Regions from separate parts of the Homo sapiens genome. Here regions 1, 2, 3 and 4 are each linked to region 5. Evidence: promoter capture Hi-C in 16 types of primary human blood cells and fetal thymus (Javierre and others, 2016). All regions are on one chromosome and are shown on one strand. The core of a region is centred on a gene start or on the middle of the fragment in contact, and the rest is flanking DNA. Distances in the headings are between cores, read along the strand shown. Region 1 overlaps CCDC47 (coiled-coil domain containing 47). Region 2 overlaps DDX42 (DEAD-box helicase 42). Region 3 overlaps CCDC47 (coiled-coil domain containing 47). Region 4 overlaps SMARCD2 (SWI/SNF related BAF chromatin remodeling complex subunit D2). Region 5 holds the start of POLG2 (DNA polymerase gamma 2, accessory subunit).

What was found. Contacts are between HindIII fragments. The CHiCAGO score rates a contact against its expected background, and 5 or more counts as called.
Region 1: a fragment that was not itself captured here is called in contact with the fragment with the promoter of POLG2 in region 5 in 1 of 17 cell types (monocytes); the score reaches 6.8 in monocytes.
Region 2: a fragment that was not itself captured here is called in contact with the fragment with the promoter of POLG2 in region 5 in 2 of 17 cell types (naive CD4 T cells and monocytes); the score reaches 6.4 in naive CD4 T cells.
Region 3: a contact is called between a fragment that was not itself captured here and the fragment with the promoter of POLG2 in region 5, in 1 of 17 cell types (total B cells). The highest score is 5.7, in total B cells.
Region 4: a fragment that was not itself captured here is called in contact with the fragment with the promoter of POLG2 in region 5 in 2 of 17 cell types (non-activated CD4 T cells and total CD8 T cells); the score reaches 6.8 in non-activated CD4 T cells.

The regions. Positions count from the first base shown.
Region 1 is chr17:63,744,572-63,748,321 of GRCh38, reverse strand. CCDC47 (coiled-coil domain containing 47) reads left to right here. Exons shown (of 13, transcript NM_020198.3): 13 at 1,361-3,067. The coding sequence ends at 1,441. Among named protein-coding and RNA genes, the nearest start is that of STRADA, 4.6 kb to the right of the region's middle. The HindIII fragment of the contact is 1,668 bases long and covers 1,302-2,969 here.
Region 2 is chr17:63,805,174-63,808,610 of GRCh38, reverse strand. It overlaps DDX42 (DEAD-box helicase 42), which reads right to left. Exons shown (of 18, transcript NM_203499.3): 7 at 3,436-3,437; 8 at 1,957-2,076; 9 at 711-887. Among named protein-coding and RNA genes, the nearest start is that of PSMC5, 21 kb to the left of the region's middle. The HindIII fragment of the contact is 8,082 bases long and covers 1-3,437 here.
Region 3 is chr17:63,761,995-63,765,433 of GRCh38, reverse strand. CCDC47 (coiled-coil domain containing 47) reads left to right here. Exons shown (of 13, transcript NM_020198.3): 3 at 587-694; 4 at 1,244-1,418. Among named protein-coding and RNA genes, the nearest start is that of CCDC47, 9.9 kb to the left of the region's middle. The HindIII fragment of the contact is 4,117 bases long and covers 1-3,358 here.
Region 4 is chr17:63,833,228-63,836,759 of GRCh38, reverse strand. SMARCD2 (SWI/SNF related BAF chromatin remodeling complex subunit D2) reads left to right here. Exons shown (of 13, transcript NM_001098426.2): 5 at 1,193-1,348; 6 at 1,960-2,055; 7 at 2,185-2,286; 8 at 2,432-2,593; 9 at 2,754-2,851; 10 at 3,038-3,173; 11 at 3,340-3,462. Among named protein-coding and RNA genes, the nearest start is that of FTSJ3, 7.3 kb to the right of the region's middle. RefSeq lists an enhancer at 1,558-1,717. The HindIII fragment of the contact is 2,098 bases long and covers 1,207-3,304 here.
Region 5 is chr17:64,495,570-64,499,239 of GRCh38, reverse strand. POLG2 (DNA polymerase gamma 2, accessory subunit) reads left to right here and starts at 2,186. Exons shown (of 8, transcript NM_007215.4): 1 at 2,186-2,833. The coding sequence starts at 2,272. DDX5 (DEAD-box helicase 5) reads left to right here. Exons shown (of 13, transcript NM_004396.5): 13 at 1-986. It also overlaps a transcript of MILR1 not described here. RefSeq lists enhancers at 1,909-2,048, 2,429-2,498, 2,150-3,009. The HindIII fragment of the contact is 2,967 bases long and covers 1,713-3,670 here.

The DNA of each region.
Region 1 (3,750 bases), core at 886-3,385, 750 kb after region 5:
GGCCAATATGGTGAAACCCCATCTCTACTAAGAATACAAAAATTAGCTGGGCATGATGGCACACACCTGTAATCCCACCTACTCCGGGGGCTGAGGCAGGAGAGTCATCCCAGGCAACAGAGCAAGAATTCTGTCTCAAAAACAAACACAAACAAAAAAAAAAACCTGGCCAGGCACATTGGCTCACGCCTGTAATCCCAGCACGTTGGGAGGCCATAGTCGGTGAATTGCCTGAGGTCAGGAGTTTGAGACCAGCCTGGCCAACATGGTGAAACCCCGTCTCTGCTAAAAATACAAAAATCAGCTGGGTGTGGTGGCACATGCCTGTAATCCCAGCTACTCGGGAGGCTAAGGCAGGAGAATGGCTTGAACCCGGAAGGCAGAGGCTACAATGACCCGAGATTGTGCCACTGCACTCCAGCCTGGGTGACACAGCAAGACCCTATCTCAAAAAAAAATAAAGAAAAAACCTAAGACAGTCAATAGTTCCCAAACCAGGAATTTACAAATCACCCTTTGAAACCTAATTTGTTGCACTATGAAGAACTATATATGCTTTGCACTTCTTCTTTTCTTCCCTATTTTCTCCATCCTGTACCAGTTGAGTATATTTCTGAGCACATTTTTACCCCAGTACCCTAAAAATAAGAAGTTTGAGATTGTAGCTGAAATAAACTTTTAATCAGGTGTGACCACTAGTGGCCAACAGTGAAGTCATACTTTGACTTGACCTCTAAGGCTTCTATCAGTCCACGTAATAATAACCTGAACCTTCTTACTCTTCTATGTAACTTCCTAATTCCTAAATAAAAATATGATAAATTTGATAATTTTTATCACATTTGATAAATATGATGTCTCAAATAGAGCATTATGAATTTAAGTATTATGTGCAGGTATGGTGTCTGTGCTAATAAGAAATTTGCAATGAATAACCTGATGGAACAAGATTCTTAAAATTTATTGAACTGAAGTAGAATGTATCTTCTGGCAGTTATACATTTATGATATAATGCCATCATGAATGGTATGGTGAACATCAGGCTAAGTGTTCCCTGGGTACAGAAAAAAATCAAACCAGAATAACAAAGGCTGGTTAATTATAGTAGTTTCTTTCAAAACTGAGATTTTAGTTTACCTTTGCTTCATTTGAAGTTGATTTAATTTTTATTCACTAATGTAGATATTGGCAATTATTTTTATAACTATCTTCTAGAATGTTATGGTGCAAGCCTAAGTTTTTGAATAATACTATAGGCAGTATTCTAATTTGGATTTTTTTTTAACATATGTTTCAAGCTTAATTTGAATTCTCTCGTCCCCACTCCCTTTCTCTATTTATTACCCCTTCTTTCTCTAGGAGGCTGCATTGAGGCGTGAGCAAAAGAAGTTGGAAAAGAAGCAAATGAAAATGAAACAAATCAAAGTGAAAGCCATGTAAAGCCATCCCAGAGATTTGAGTTCTGATGCCACCTGTAAGCTCTGAATTCACAGGAAACATGAAAAACGCCAGTCCATTTCTCAACCTTAAATTTCAGACAGTCTTGGGCAACTGAGAAATCCTTATTTCATCATCTACTCTGTTTGGGGTTTGGGGTTTTACAGAGATTGAAGATACCTGGAAAGGGCTCTGTTTCAAGAATTTTTTTTTCCAGATAATCAAATTATTTTGATTATTTTATAAAAGGAATGATCTATGAAATCTGTGTAGGTTTTAAATATTTTAAAAATTATAATACAAATCATCAGTGCTTTTAGTACTTCAGTGTTTAAAGAAATACCGTGAAATTTATAGGTAGATAACCAGATTGTTGCTTTTTGTTTAAACCAAGCAGTTGAAATGGCTATAAAGACTGACTCTAAACCAAGATTCTGCAAATAATGATTGGAATTGCACAATAAACATTGCTTGATGTTTTCTTGTATGTCTACATTAAACTTGAGAAAAAGTAAAAATTAGAACACTGTATGTAGTAATGAAATTTCAGGGACCCAGAACATAATGTAGTATATGTTTTTAGGTGGGAGATGCTGATAACAAAATTAATAGGAAGTCTGTAGGCATTAGGATACTGACATGTACATGGAAAATTCTAGGGACAGGAGCATCATTTTTTCCTTACCTGATACCACGAACCAGTGACAACGTGAATGCTGTATTTTAAGTGGTTGTATGTTTATTTTCTTGAGTAACAAATGCATGAAAAATTAATGCTTCACCTAGGTAAGATCATTGGTCTGTGTGAAATCACAAATGTTTTTTCCTTCTTGGTTGCTGCAGCCTGGTGGATGTTCATGGAGAAGCTCTGTTCTCTATATTATGGCTGTGTGCCGTTGCTTCTCCCTCTGCTTTTATCTTTTCCACAGTTGAGGCTGGGTATGTTCTTTCAAAGAAATGGCCATGAATATGTGTAAGTATACTTTTGAAAATGAGCTTTCCTAAACTATTGAGAGTTCTTTCCACCTCTTGCGGAACCAACTCTTGGAGGAGAGGCCCATGTATCTGCACGAGCACTTAGCTTGTTCAGATCTCTGCATTTTATAAATGCTTCTTACCAAGAAAGCATTTTTAGGTCATTGCTTGTACCAGGTAATTTTTGCCGGGGATGGGTAAGGGTTGGGTTTTCTGGTGGGAGTGGGGTGGTGGGTATTTTTTGTTGATGCTTTAGTGCAGGCCTGTTCTGAGGCAATAACAAGTTGCTGTGAAAACAGCATGTGCTGCTGCCTTTGTAACTGCATGGAAACTTTTCACATGGGTTTTTCTCCAAGTTAATACAGAAATATGTAAACTGAGAGATGCAAATGTAATATTTTTAACAGTTCATGAAGTTGTTATTAAAATAACTAACATAAAACTTAATTACTTTAATATTATATAATTATAGTAGTGGCCTTGTTTTACAAACCTTTAAATTACATTTTAGAAATCAAAGTTGATAGTCTTAGTTATCTTTTGAGTAAGAAAAGCTTTCCTAAAGTCCCATACATTTGGACCATGGCAGCTAATTTTGTAACTTAAGCATTCATATGAACTACCTATGGACATCTATTAAAGTGATTGACAAAATCTCAGAGTGCCGCCTTGACTTTGTGGAGTTATCCTACAAGAGTATAAGCTCAGAGGAAAATTCTTTCTGTTCGATAAAAGTCAGCACTGAAATGCTTTTCCTTCAAAAGAGTTCATCTGAATATTCCTTTTGTTATTACCATTCAATCATTTTAAAAACATTTTATATTTTTAGAGCCCCATATGTTATTTATGGGCTCCTCCCTGCATTCCACCTCTTAAGACTCCATTAACTCTCCTGTGAATGCGAGGACAAAGAGAGGAGGATGTTGTTTAGTGTCACAAACTGGAAAACCACTAAGTCTCCAATCTCATTTGCATTGCCTGGATGTTTAGCAATGCCAAAATAAGCACTGGACTGTAAGACAAAGACCTGGCTTTTAGTGCCAGCAGAACTAATTACTAATCCTTTGACTTTCGGCAAGTTATTAACCTAATGTGAAGTGAGGATAGTAATTATTTGCCCTGCCTGCTTCACAGGTAGTTGAACACTAAGAGAAAATATATATGTGAGATTGTTTTGTAAACTGTTTAAGCACTTTGCAAGTATAAGGCATCATCTAGGACTGGTCTCCAAGTGATGCATTCTTGCTTTACTCTCTTTTGCTTTTCTTTCTCCCAATGGAAACCAAGCAGATCCTTTCAGAGTTCTTTATCTGCAAAAATTGATAGGGTATTTTTTG
Region 2 (3,437 bases), core at 391-2,890, 690 kb after region 5:
TACCCCCTTCTCTTCCTGATCCTGTCACTGCTTTTCTACCAAGATAAAATGAACTCATCCTACAGAAAAACTGTCAGCTTATAATACAAACAATCCCCATATCACAATAGGCTTTTCCTCTTAAAAAAAGTAGTTCTGGCCGGGCACAGTGGCTCACACCTGTAATCCCAGCACTGTGGGAGGCCAAGGCAAGCAGATCACTTGAGGTCAGGAGTTTGAGACCAGCCTGGCCAACATGGTGAAACCCCGTCTCTACTAAAAATAAAAAAATTAGCCAGGTGTGGTGGCGTGTGCCCGTGATCCCAGCCTCTCGGCTGAGGCAGGAGAATTGCTTGAAACTGGGAGGTGGAGGTTGCAGTGAGCTGAGATCACACCACTGCACTCCAGCCTGGGCAAAAGAGTGAGACTCTGTCTCAAAAAAAGCAAATAAATAAAAATAAATAAAAACAGTAGTTTTTAGGGGAAAATATGTATTTGGTTATATAGAAAATATTTAACACATAATACTTTCCAAAAGTTTCCTGGTAGCACAACACTGTGAATATACTTAATGCCACTGAACTGTACATTAAAAATGGTTAAGATAATCAATTTTGTGTGTATCTTATCACAATTAAAAAAAAAAGTTTCCTGGTCATTCTACCTCACTTGACTGGCTGGTCCCTTGCTAGTCCACATATGGAAGGAGGCATTCTATAGAAAGCACATACCTGCTGGCAAAGCTCCCTGGTAGGACACACAATCACTGCAATTGGTCCATCACCTGGTTCCAACTCCTTCTGGTCCATTATATGAATCAACATGGGCCAAATGAAGGCTGCAGTTTTCCCACTACCTGTTTTGGCAATACCAATCATGTCTCTACCACTTAATGCCACAGGCACACCCTGGAGAAAAAGTAAAATATAACCACTCTAAAATTTCAATTCTAAAGATGTACTGAAGCAAATCCTGGGGAATGATAAATGACTACTAACATTTTTATTTGCAATGGAACAAAACATACCTGGTGCTATGCATACTGGTTGTGAAATAGAAATATCAATATCCAACATTCTCATTAACTTCTTGATTTATAGGAAATGACATCATTCTCATTACGTGGATATCAGCCACCACTTACAGAACAGAAACAACTCCATTTTGTTTAAAATACAGAAATGAAAAATCAAGGCCGGGCAGTGGCTCACGCCTGTAATCCCAGCACTTTGGGAGGCCGAGGTGGGCAGGTTCCCTGAGCTCAGGAGCTCGAGACCAGCCTGGGCAACACGGTGAAACCCTATCTCAACTAAAATACAAAAAATTAGCCAGGTGTGCTGGCGTGCGCCTGTAATCCCACCTACTTGGGAGGCCGAGGCAGGAGAATTGCTTGAACCTGGGAGGCAGAGATTGCAGTGAGCCAAGATCGCGCCACTGCACTCCAGCTTGGACAACAGAGTGAGACTCTGTCCCCAAAAAAAACAAAAACAAAAACAAAACAGAAAAATTGCAATTTATAATGAAGGGTTGCTAAAATTTTAAAAATTTTCCCCCCTTAAGAAGGTACAGACTATCTCATTCATATACAGAAAATGAGAATGTTCTGCATAAGAATAAATAAATCCCATATATAAATGGGAAAAAGAAGCTAAAACTTTCAGTAATGAATGAGAATTTTCAAGTGACGAACGAAGGAATTCTAGTCATTGACAGTGCTAAATTTGTCTATATACGAACCTTTTTGGTTAGGTTTAGGCCTAATAAATTATTTTCTTCATATCATATTTTCAACATACGTATCAGATACAAAAGAATATTTGTCAGCCATTTAGTGACTTCTTAAGAGTGATAAATACCTCTATCCTTATCAACAAGGTTCTACACTAAACACTGTTTTACTGCTGTGATTTGTTTTTAAATTAATATAGTCATGAAAGACTACCCTACTTTATTTTTCTTTCATTATGTTTTACTTACCTGGCACTGTATTGGAGTGGGCTGTGTGTATTCAGATTTCCGAATCTGGTGCATAAGTTGTTCGTCAAACCCAAAATGAGCAAAGCTACTTCCTGGTCTAGGAGGTGCAGCACCAGAGACCTAGAGATAGAGACAACTCCCCAGAATGACTTGTACTTCAACATTAACAGCATTTGAAGTTCAACAATACTTACCTGGATCTAGCATTTTAGCTGGAGTATGAAGTAAAAATACAAGTCTGTAAGCCAAAATCATACAATGAAAAGGAAAAACCTCAAATGGTAACAAATATAAACCTCATATTAAAAACTCCATGATAAATATTCCCAAGATAATTGTCATACAATTTTAAATGATTAAAAATTTCTTAACTCAAAATTAATTTTCTCATAACAAATAAAACGGAAAAAAAATTGTTCAATGAATTGGGAAGCCATAACTGTTCTTTTGCCATTTTGCATTAAGTATTAACCAGATGGTAGAAAAAAATTAATGTATCTTACTCTTGAAATGAAAATTCCAAGTGGGCTCCAAATAAGACAAGTCTACACATGCTGGCTACCAAGATATAATCTACTGCCTCCATTTTCAGTTATGCTTGATGAATTAAAGTCTCACTTAGTGATGGTCCAGCCACTGTCAAGCCCTGTTCAAACTGCACCTAGGTGAAGAATGGGGCTTATAATCTCCATTTTGTCCCCCAAAGTGGTAACCTTTCAATGCTTCTCTGGTGATGTTGATATTTCCAATCAGGATTTCAGGGGTTTTACTTAAAATTTTTCTTGGGTCACTGGGGAGATGAGTAACCTCTTGGAAAACAGACAAGTGTACACACACAAATACACACCCCTCCTGGAAAACAGGAGTTTAAACATCGTGTAGCAACTGATAAGGTGCACACAGGCGAGAAAGTTGTCTATATTAGAGTAGATAGCATAGCATATTTTTTCTGTGTGTTTCATTTACCATCTATCAGCACCTTAAACCAATGTAGCCAATGTGCAGCCCAAAACTTTCTGGTAGGCAGTTTAAACCATTCTGAAATTAGTACATGCATATTTTTAAAAGGTATTAGTTTATTCTAATTTTTAAAATAAAGCATACTATATGTAATTTGACAGACAAGTTTATCTTCATTTCAAAATATTCTAAGATATCATCTGTTAACATCTATTCCTTTTGTTTCCTCTTCCTTTAGATGGGGACTCCCACCCTTCATCACTAGCCCATCCAGCACAGAACATATAAAACTGACTGAAATATGAAACAAGAAAATGATCCTATCCTAAAACAGCATCTAGAAGACTAAAACAATCAAATTAAGAGACATGAACAGAAGGGATATAATAATTACTCTGGCAAAGACAGTTCAGAGACCATTAGAAAAGAAATTCAAGGTTATTAGTTTAGATAACCAATAATACTAAATCTGGACTAATTAACATTAATATTAAGAATATTGAGCTTAATGATGCTTACCC
Region 3 (3,439 bases), core at 51-2,550, 730 kb after region 5:
GGGAGGTGGAGGTTGCAGTGAGCTGAGATTGAGCCACTGCACTTCAGCCTGGGTGATAGAGCAAGACCTTGTCTCCAAAAAAAAAAAGAAAAGAAAAAACTTTGTCATCAAAAGCATGGGGACTCATCATTTTGGTGTTTTGGGTGCTCCCCAGCTTTATTGAGGTGTAACTGACAAAAATTGTATATATTTAAGGTGCACAACATAGTGTTTTGGTATACCTCTACATACAATATGAAGTGCTTACCACAATCAAGCTAATTAACATAGTTGCCTCCGTGTGTGTGTGTGTGTGTGTGTGTGTGTGTGTGTGGTGAGAATACTTACAATATATTCTCTTAGCAGATTTCAAGTCTACAATACATTATTATTAACTGTAGTCACCTTGCTGCACATTAGGTCTTCAGAACTTTCTCATTTTAAGCTGAAATTTGTACCCAATCGTTTTGTTAAAAACATGTAACATCTGTTTTCTGTGCTTGCTGCTTACACGTTCTTGTTTTCCCCAACAAATGTTGCCAACAAAATGAGACACAGCTGCTGGTGACATTTGTAGAGGAAAACGGATGATGCCTCATTTTTGTAGGAGGGAGATACTGAGAGTGAACCATATGATGATGAAGAATTTGAAGGTTATGAAGACAAACCAGATACTTCTTCTAGCAAAAATAAAGACCCAATAACGATTGTTGATGTAGGTATCCAGGATTCTGAATTCCCAACTAAACAACAAAATGTCTTGTCATCAATCCCAGAAATAAAATTAATGATGTATAGCTGGTGTTAATGCAATAGTGGGAGCTGAGAAGGAGCTTGACATCAATTTTTCTGATAAAAATCAACACCTCTCCGTCTCAAAAAAAAAAAAATCAACACCTACAGAAGCAACCCCTATTCATCATTGTAGCACTTCTAGTTTTACTACTTATCAGGGAATAAGTAAAATTTATTCCTTGGTGATGTACAGTACATTGAATTTATTTGGGGGTTAAGGACCAAGTGTAAAACAAAGGGCTTTCCAGCTTTTCATCCCATTTGATTGTCCTTATATTTCCTTAAAGAATCTTTTATCAAGCTAGCCTAGAAAAGTAAAATGGACCTATTTTTCAAAGTATAACCTTATTCAATGACAGATATCTGAAGTATCCCTTCTGTTTATGGATTTTCTCATTCTTCCTGCCATGAGGTAGATTTCATTCTTCAGTCTCAGCCAACATTTAATGGAATGATTTTGCTTTTTTAGGTTCCTGCACACCTCCAGAACAGCTGGGAGAGTTATTATCTAGAAATTTTGATGGTGACTGGTCTGCTTGCTTATATCATGAATTACATCATTGGGAAGAATAAAAACAGTCGCCTTGCACAGGCCTGGTTTAACACTCATAGGGAGCTTTTGGAGAGCAACTTTACTTTAGTGGGTAAGTGAGGCCAATGTCAGCCCAGCTTCTTGCTTGAAAACAATCTGGTAAGGATGATGTATTCCCCTCAGTATAAGCATCTAACTGCTTTCATGGAATACCAAAGAGGGTGCATTGTTTTTTCTCTCAAGGATTCCCCCTGCTCTTTTTTTTTTTAATTTAATTTAATTTTATTATTATTATTACTATTTTTGAGATGGAGTCTCACTCTGTCACCAGGCTGGAGTGCAGTGGCGCGATCTCGGCTCACTGCAACCTCCACCTCCTGGGTTCAAGCGATTCTTCTGCCTCAGCCTCCCAAGTAGCTGGGACTACAGGCGTGCACCACCATGCCCTGCTCATTTTTGTATTTTTAGTAGAGTCGGGGTTTCACCATGTTGGCCAGGATGGTCTCAATCTCTTGACCTCATGGTCCACCCACCTCGGCCTCCCAGATTGCAGGGATTACAGGCATGAGCCACTGCACCCGGCCTTTTTATTTTTATTTTTTTGAGGCAAGGTCTCACGCTGTTACCCAGGCTTGTGTGCAGTGGTATGATTACAGTTCACTGCAGCCTCGACCTCCCAGGTTCAAGAGATCCTTCCATCTTAGCCTTCTGAGTAGACAGGACTACAGGCACATGCTACCACACCCAGCTAATTTTTGTATTTTTTTTGTAGAGACAGAGTTTCATCATATTGTGCAGGCTGGTCTCGAACTCCTGGGCTCAAGCAATCTGGCTGCCTTGGCCTCCCAAATTGCTGGGATTACAGACGTGAGCTACTGCATCCAGCCTTGAGGATCCTGTTTTTTGGCCCGGTGCGGTGGCTCACACGTGTAATTCCAGTGATTTGGGAGGCCAAGGTGGGAGGATTATTTGGGGCCAGGAGTTTAAGACCAGTCTGGGCAACATAGTGAGACCTTGTCTCTACAAATAAAATAAAATAAAAATTGGCCAGTCACAGTGGTGTGCTTCTGTGGTCCCAACTACTTGGGAGGATGAGGTGGGAGAATTGAGCTCAGGAGTTTGAGGCTGCAGTGGTACAGAATCATGCTCCTGCACTCCAGCCTGGGTGACAGAATGAGACCCTGTTTCTAAAAATAAGAATATATTGTATTTAATAATTTTCTCATCTTTCATGAGTCAGCAGTAAAATTGCTAAACAGCTTCTGATTAGTATAATGTAATCGATGTTTTCAAAACAAGTTGATAAAATTCTGACGGAAACCAAGAAAGTTTGACATTTTAGGTAGCTTGATAAATGCTCTCAATTCATCTTTTAGAAATTGAAAGTCCCTCAAAATTCCCTTAGAATCTGACACTTGAGTTTTGGATCCACTGCTGAAATATACATTGAAGGACTTCAAGGAACCTCTGTAGTTGTGCAATGTAGGGAATGAGGTGGACTAACCTCACATTCACCTATTTGGCATTTAGCACCTTATTTCTCTTTAATAGTAAGCATGTATCCACCTGCTCTGCAACACAGTAGTGTTTATATATTATGCTAGATACTTTGCATACAGTGTTTCTTATTTACTTTTTGTAACAACACTGTCAATTGGCTATAGTTGCTGTTTTCCTAAGGAGGAAACTGAAGGGCAGAAATGTTAAAACTTATCTAAGCTGTTAAATTGCAACCAAGATATCAGAACTTATCTACCTGTTTGCAAAGTCCACCCCGTCTCCACTATACCATAGTATTTCAGAGTATGTTTTGACCAGGAAATTCGAAAAAAAATAAATGAGCAGCTTTGGCTCCTTCTACTTCCCCTTGCTTGTTTTCATTTGGTGTATCAGTCCGTTTTCCCTTGTGAGGTTGAGCAATTTCTTTTGTATACTTAATGAATTAAATGAAGAGAGAAAGTATTGGAATTTGAGCTTTTTTCTAGAGTTAAAATACAACTCTTAATACCATTAGTAAGACCCAGTTATCATTTTGCATTGGAAAAGAAAGCTTGGTTAAAGTTAATTCATAGGAGACATAGTGAGAAATTGTTGAGTAGTTTGTATTAATGGTATTTTTTATTCACTCCATAG
Region 4 (3,532 bases), core at 1,006-3,505, 660 kb after region 5:
GTTTTAAATGAATATATGACAGTAGAAAATCTTAAAATACTTCACAGTAGTACTTACCATAGTAGTAAATGGATTCTTTCATGACATTTTTGTTTCTGATAAATAGATATGCAGACCTTGGGTCATAATTGAAAATGTAAATCTTATGGGTGGTGGTCAAAAGTTTGAAAACCACTAGACTAGGGGATAAAGGTAGTTCCTTTCTCCTTCCCCTTCCCCATCCATAGAGAAATTTTCTTTTTTTTTTTTTTTTTTTTTTCTGAGATGGAGTCTCGCTCTTTCACCTAAGCTGGAGTGCAGTGTTGCGATCTCGGCTCACTGCAACCTTCGCATCCCAGGTTCAAGTAATTCTTCTTGCCTCAGCCTCCCGAGTAACTAGGATTACAGATGCCTGTCACCACGCCCGGCTAATTTTTGTATTTTTAGTATCGCCATGTTACCCAGGCTGGTCTCGAACTCCTGACTGCCTCGGCCTCCCAAAGTGCTGAGATTACAGGCGTGAGCCACTGCACCCAGCCGAGAAGCTTTTCTTAATAATAATGTAGAACAGTCCCGAGTGGTGAAGCCTTTCCAGGGGACTAGGATATTTTGGAGCCGTGATGGGTGTTTGGGTTTCATGTAAGATGTGAGCCAGAGACTGGCTGCGTGTTACTCCATCATGCCGTAGCACCAGTCCCACTGTGCTGGCATTGTTGGTGATGCATCTCTTTCCCCATAAAATGGTGAGTTCCGGCCAGGTGCGGTGGCTCACACCTGTAATCTCAGCACTTTAGGAGGCCGAAGTGGGCAGATCACCTGAGGTCAGGAGTTTGAGACCAGCATGGCCAACATGTTGAAATACCATCTTTACAAAAACACAAAAAATTAGCTGGGCATGGTGGTGCGCACCTGTAGTCCCAGCTACATGGGAGACTGAGGCAAGAGAATCGCTTGAACCTGGGAGTCAGAGGTTGCAAGTGAGCTGAGATCGCGCCACTGCACTCCAGCCTGGGTGACAGAGTGAGACCATGTCTAAAAAAAAAAAAGGCTGGGACTGGGACTTACTACTTCTGATTCCCAGTACCTGACAAGGTGCCTGGCTGGCTCATGGTGCTCAGTACTGATTGTTGAATGGTTCATATGAGAAGATGCGGTAGCACTGTGTCCCAGCATCTTGGTCCACCTCCAGTTGTGATTGCCTTTCTCTCTTTAGCAAAAGCGAAAGCTTCGGATCTACATTTCCAATACGTTCAGTCCCAGCAAGGCGGAAGGCGATAGTGCAGGAACTGCAGGGACCCCTGGGGGAACCCCAGCAGGGGACAAGGTGGCTTCCTGGGAACTCCGAGTGGAAGGAAAACTGCTGGATGATGTGAGTTGGGGAGGGAGGTTCTGGAGGGAAGGAGGCCTGTGTGGGTTTAAGACTGAGACCAAGGAGTTTGATACTAGCCTGAGCAGCAGAGCCAGACCCCATCTCTACAAAAAATTTAAAAATTAGCTGGGTGCGGTGGCATGCACCTGTAGTCCCAGCTACTCATAAGGCTGATGCAGGAGGATGGCTTGAGCCCAGGAGGTCGAGCTTCAGTGAGTTATGATCACACCACTGCACTTCAGCCTGGGTGACAGAGTGAGATTGTGTCTCAGAAAAAAAAAGACTGGGCCAGACACTTGGGCGCTCCCAGAGAAGTCCTGCCATAGGGAGGGGGGCGCTGCTCCAAGCCCGTTGGAGGTTGATTTGTGTGGTTATTACAGTGTTCCTGCAGATGGCAGTCGAGTGTCTCGAGGAAGTCCCTCGTGGGCTGCAAGAGGGCACCATTTCCCTGCCTCCAGTCTGCCCAGAGTCCTGCTTCCATCCTTCAGGGCCCAGGAATCTTCAGTATCCGGAGCTCCAGGGCTGAAATGGGGCTTCTCTTTCTTGGGATTTAGCATAGCTTGAGATTTGAGAGCTCAGCAGCACCATCTCACACCCCTTTCCATCCCCAGCCTAGCAAACAGAAGAGGAAGTTTTCTTCATTCTTTAAGAGCCTCGTCATTGAGCTGGACAAGGAGCTGTACGGGCCTGACAATCACCTGGTGGAGGTGAGAGTGGGCCTGGGGCAAAAGCAGGCTGATGTGCAGGTTTGGCAGGGAAATGGCCTCAGGGCCCTTGGGAGGCCCTGTGTTCACGCCCACCCCCTTGGTGATAAGCCATGCTTCCCTCCCTGCCAGTGGCACCGGATGCCCACCACCCAGGAGACAGATGGCTTCCAAGTAAAACGGCCTGGAGACCTCAACGTCAAGTGCACCCTCCTGCTCATGCTGGATCATCAGGTGACAGAGACCCTGGGGTCATTTCTGGGCCCACAGGGACCCCTCAGGAGGGGAGCTGGTTCCTAGAAACCCTTCCTGTCCCTGCCCTATTTTCCCACTGTTCTACTATAAGAACCCGTTCTGACTCCCCTCCATCCAACTCCAGCCTCCCCAGTACAAATTGGACCCCCGATTGGCAAGGCTGCTGGGAGTGCACACGCAGACGAGGGCCGCCATCATGCAGGCCCTGTGGCTTTACATCAAGCACAACCAGCTGCAGGATGGGCACGAGCGGGAGTACATCAACTGCAACCGTTACTTCCGCCAGGTTAGCCAGATGCCAGCCCCCGTTTTCTCAGCCCTTGCTTTGCCTTGCCTGCTGGGCTACTCCTTGGCCACAGCCTGCAGACTGCTGCCCTCACTGGTCCTGGAATGGTCCACTCCACTGTGCCCACAAGCCAACGCTGAGCCTTTCGTATTTCCTCCAGATCTTCAGTTGTGGCCGACTCCGTTTCTCCGAGATTCCCATGAAGCTGGCAGGGTTGCTGCAGCATCCAGACCCCATTGTCATCAACCATGTCATTAGGTAAATGCAAGGAGGGGGACAGGAAGGCTCTTCTAAGAGCAGATTCACCCTTGGCTTGAACTAAAGCCAAAGAAAGCATCAGGTTTCTTTTTCCCTGAGTGTGTGCAGAGAATGGGCCCCAGATTTGGCCCAGGTGGGCAGGATGAAGTCAGCTATGTGCCTTCCCTCCCCATGTGCTGCCTGCAGTGTCGACCCTAACGACCAGAAGAAGACAGCCTGTTACGACATCGATGTGGAGGTGGACGACCCACTGAAGGCCCAAATGAGCAATTTTCTGGCCTCTACCACCAATCAGCAGGAGATCGCCTCCCTTGATGTCAAGGTGGGCCCTCTGGCTCCACAGCTTCCTCTGGGGCCCAGGATTGGGGTGGGCTGGCTCTGTCCAGCATTTCCATACATGTAGCACCTGGAGGACGGGATGGGAACTCTGGCTCAGTTGCTTGCATGTAAGCTTTGGGGGCACAGTCTGACACAGGTACCCTCTCCAGATCCATGAGACCATTGAGTCCATCAACCAGCTGAAGACCCAGAGAGATTTCATGCTCAGTTTTAGCACCGACCCCCAGGACTTCATCCAGGAATGGCTCCGTTCCCAGCGCCGAGACCTCAAGGTGTAGTCCTCTTTCCCGAGGGGACTCCTATGTAAAGCTCTGGGTGATTTTTACCCACAGCAGTTCCCAG
Region 5 (3,670 bases), core at 937-3,436:
TTATAATTTAAAAAGCTCCAAATAACTGGCTTTTTCAAGAGACTTATACTCATGCTCTTGGCTATACTGTGAATTACTGAAATGTTGAACAAACCTGTGAAAGACATACATTAGCCCTTTAAGATGGCCAGGAGCTAAGCTTGAGTCTCCTTTACTGAATTTCGTTCTTAGTGCAGGTTACTTGTAGATTCTAGTCTTCACAGGCTCCCTGGGGCTCTTAACTAGTCACACTGGGAGTCATGAATGTCTTTCCAATAATTCAGGGAATTCTAGAGATCCTCAAACTGTAAGGTCTATTCATACTCAACACAAGGAAAAAACCTCATTAAAATTAATGACTAATCAGGAGGCAACGTAACCAAAAGCACAGTGAATGAAAGTTTTCATGGTAGGTTCAACATGGGTTTATTGCTAGAAAGATCCAGGGGATAGCTTTAGGTTTAACTTCGGCTCACCAACGTAACTTTCTAATCATTTATTTCAGTAATAGCTAGAAGTGGGTCTGAATGTTTTCCCAGAGTCTGATACGTGTTTTTTTTTGCCAGAAGAGAGGTCTTCAGGAGACTTCATTTAAATTCTGATTATTAAACTGAGGCTTTAATTGATGTTAATGCCTTATGTCAAATGTAAAGTTAGAATTTGCTAGGGCTGGGATAGGGAGTGATATTTCTAGGACTTAGACATTGAAAACTAATTCAGCCTGTAGTAACCTGGATGGTTTTCAATGGCATGGTTAGTCAAATTCATGGTTTTAAACTTAGAAGCAGCTTTCGGGGGAGAGGGTAGGTTGGAGCATTTATTACATATTTTACTGTTTAATGTCTTAACCGTGGGCCTTTTAATTTGTAAACACTGAAATGATTGTTGGGCTGTGGAAAACATTTACCTATTTACCTTGGAAGTTTTAAAAGACAGTCCACTTTTTAGCATGTGTGTTGTGTCCAGCCTGTGGTCGTCTTAACTAATAAATGTGATTTTTCTCCCCATTCTCTCTTTTTATTTATTTGCGTATAGGCCTTTTACCTGGTGTGAGTTCCTGAATGTGGAAAACACCTGGCAGTAGTACCCAGCTTTGCAGTTAATTACTATCTAGCTGGCCTTTTTTTAAACCCTTGTATACACTTGTAAAGAAGAACTATTTCCTGAACCTGGTACAGCACTTTACTAATGATAAAACTTTACTCCTGAATTACATTAACTCAATTGCTAAGCTGTTACCCCTCTTAATCAGGTAGTAGTTTGGTAGTCTCACAGTGAAATGTAGATTGTTCCTTTTTCCCTGAACCTCTTTAAAGGTTTTCGTAACTGAGGCTGGTATAAGAAATCATGGACTTTGGAATCAAACTTCCTCAGTCTGGGTATACCACTTTTCCACTTTCTGGGTAGGTCTTAAGGTCTCGACCTATTTAAATAGAAACTGCAAAATCAGAAACCTGCAATTTAATCATGAGTCTCTTAATAATAACAGTCACAAGTCTCATTGTTTTGATGAACCCATAGAAGGGGCCCCTGGAAGAAATTGCACGTACGTGGTTTTCTCTGACACCAGGAGGGTTTAAGACATGTCAGGGCCCCTTGGTTTATTTCTAGTGCATTCCCAGGTGAGGCAGATGCTGCTGGCTGGGGACTGCCCTTTGGAAGCCACTGCAATATTTAAAGTGACCATACCACTACCCTAGTCACGAAGCCTATCGCCCCCCTCCCCGGAAGCTTAAGCGTCAAGACAACGGCTCTGGGGTTAGGCCTAGGCCACCTGGCGGCAGCATTTGCCTAGTTAAGAAGGCCTGGGCTTACAAATCACCGTAAAGGACTAAAACTGTTTAAAGGGAAACCAAATGCCAAATTTAGTCCAAGTGCTTGATTGAGGTGTATATAGAAGGTGATTTGGATAATACTGAAGTATTTTAATTTTCTGGACTGCAAAACAGTGGCAGAAGGAAGTGACTCAAGTGGCTACACCACGGTTATAAATAGGTGGGAATAACCTTTACTGGTGCTTACGAGGAAAGAAAAAAGTCAATCTGAAGGGAGGGGCGCGACGCGAACGGCAAGCTAGCAGAGAACCATCCGAGCCGGCGTCCGCCATGGTGGGCGGGGGACGGCTGCGGCCGGAACGCAGACATGCGCTTCCGGGGTGGGGCCTGCCGCCCGCAAGCACGCTCACCTCCGTTGCGCCTGCGCCGTGGCCTCTCCGGATTCTGTTAACGGTAGTGGTGGCTTGTTGGGATCCGTTGAGTGATGGGAGAGTGTGCTCTTTAACTTCGGAGAGAGATGCGCTCTCGTGTAGCCGTCAGGGCCTGCCATAAGGTCTGCAGGTGCCTGTTGTCTGGGTTTGGGGGTCGAGTAGATGCGGGGCAGCCGGAGCTGTTGACGGAAAGGAGTAGCCCCAAAGGAGGGCATGTGAAGTCGCACGCGGAGCTCGAGGGGAACGGCGAGCACCCAGAAGCCCCCGGGTCTGGAGAGGGAAGCGAGGCGCTGTTAGAGATCTGTCAGAGAAGGCATTTCCTAAGTGGAAGCAAGCAGCAGCTTAGCCGGGATTCTCTTCTGAGTGGGTGCCACCCCGGCTTCGGACCCTTGGGCGTAGAGTTGCGGAAGAACCTGGCCGCAGAATGGTGGACCTCGGTGGTGGTGTTCAGGGAGCAGGTATTCCCGGTGGACGCCCTCCACCACAAACCAGGCCCTTTGCTACCCGGGGACAGTGCCTTCAGGTTAGTTTCTGCAGAAACTCTACGCGAAATCTTGCAAGACAAAGAGCTGAGTAAGGAACAGCTAGTAGCATTTCTTGAGAACGTATTAAAAACTTCTGGGAAACTACGGGAGAACCTTCTTCACGGTATGCTTCACGATTTCATGCTTCAAAACAGGTGTCGGGTGGAAAGGCGAGGCAGTCTTGCTGGATCTTGGGGATTGCAACTGGCCCTGTATTCCCATGCAAGGAAGTTAGTTAGTTCTCATCTTTTTGAAGTAGTCGGATATATTAACAGTGCTCTACCCTGGAGAAAACTGGTCCATGGAATCATTGCTGTTCCTTAAACAATCTGTCCGAAGGACCTGGGAACGCTCTCAATTTCACGGGGCAACTTCTGAACACAGTGCTGTCATTTAGTGCAATGTAGTCTAAGTGCATAAGGAACTACACAGACATTTTGAACTTTTCTTAGATTTATTCTAAGTAAAAATGTTGAAATTATAATTCTGAAACTATTTCATGTATATCATAGGATAAATCAAGGCCAGGCGCAGTGGCTCACGCCTGTAATCCCAGCATTTTGCAAGGCAGAGGCGGGTGGATCACCTGAGGTCAGGAGTTCGAGACTAGCCTGGCCAACATGGTGAAACCCCGTCTCTACTAAAAAGACAAAAATTAGCCGGCCGTGACGGCGAGCGCCTGTAATCCCAGCTACTTGGGAGGCTGAGGCAGGAGAATCGCTTGAACCCAGGAGGCAGAGGTTGCAGTGAGCCGAGATCACGCCACTGCACTCCAGCTTGGGTGACAAGAGCAAAACTCCGTCTTAAAAAAAAAAAATTCAAATAGTTGGGTTAGTTGTTATTAGGAACCAAGATATTCATTGTAAAAGAAGAGATAATATGTAAAAGAAGGTACGTATAAACTAATGTTAAATATGGATTGGTAAATTAAATATGAATTGGTAAATTAAAATTGAATATG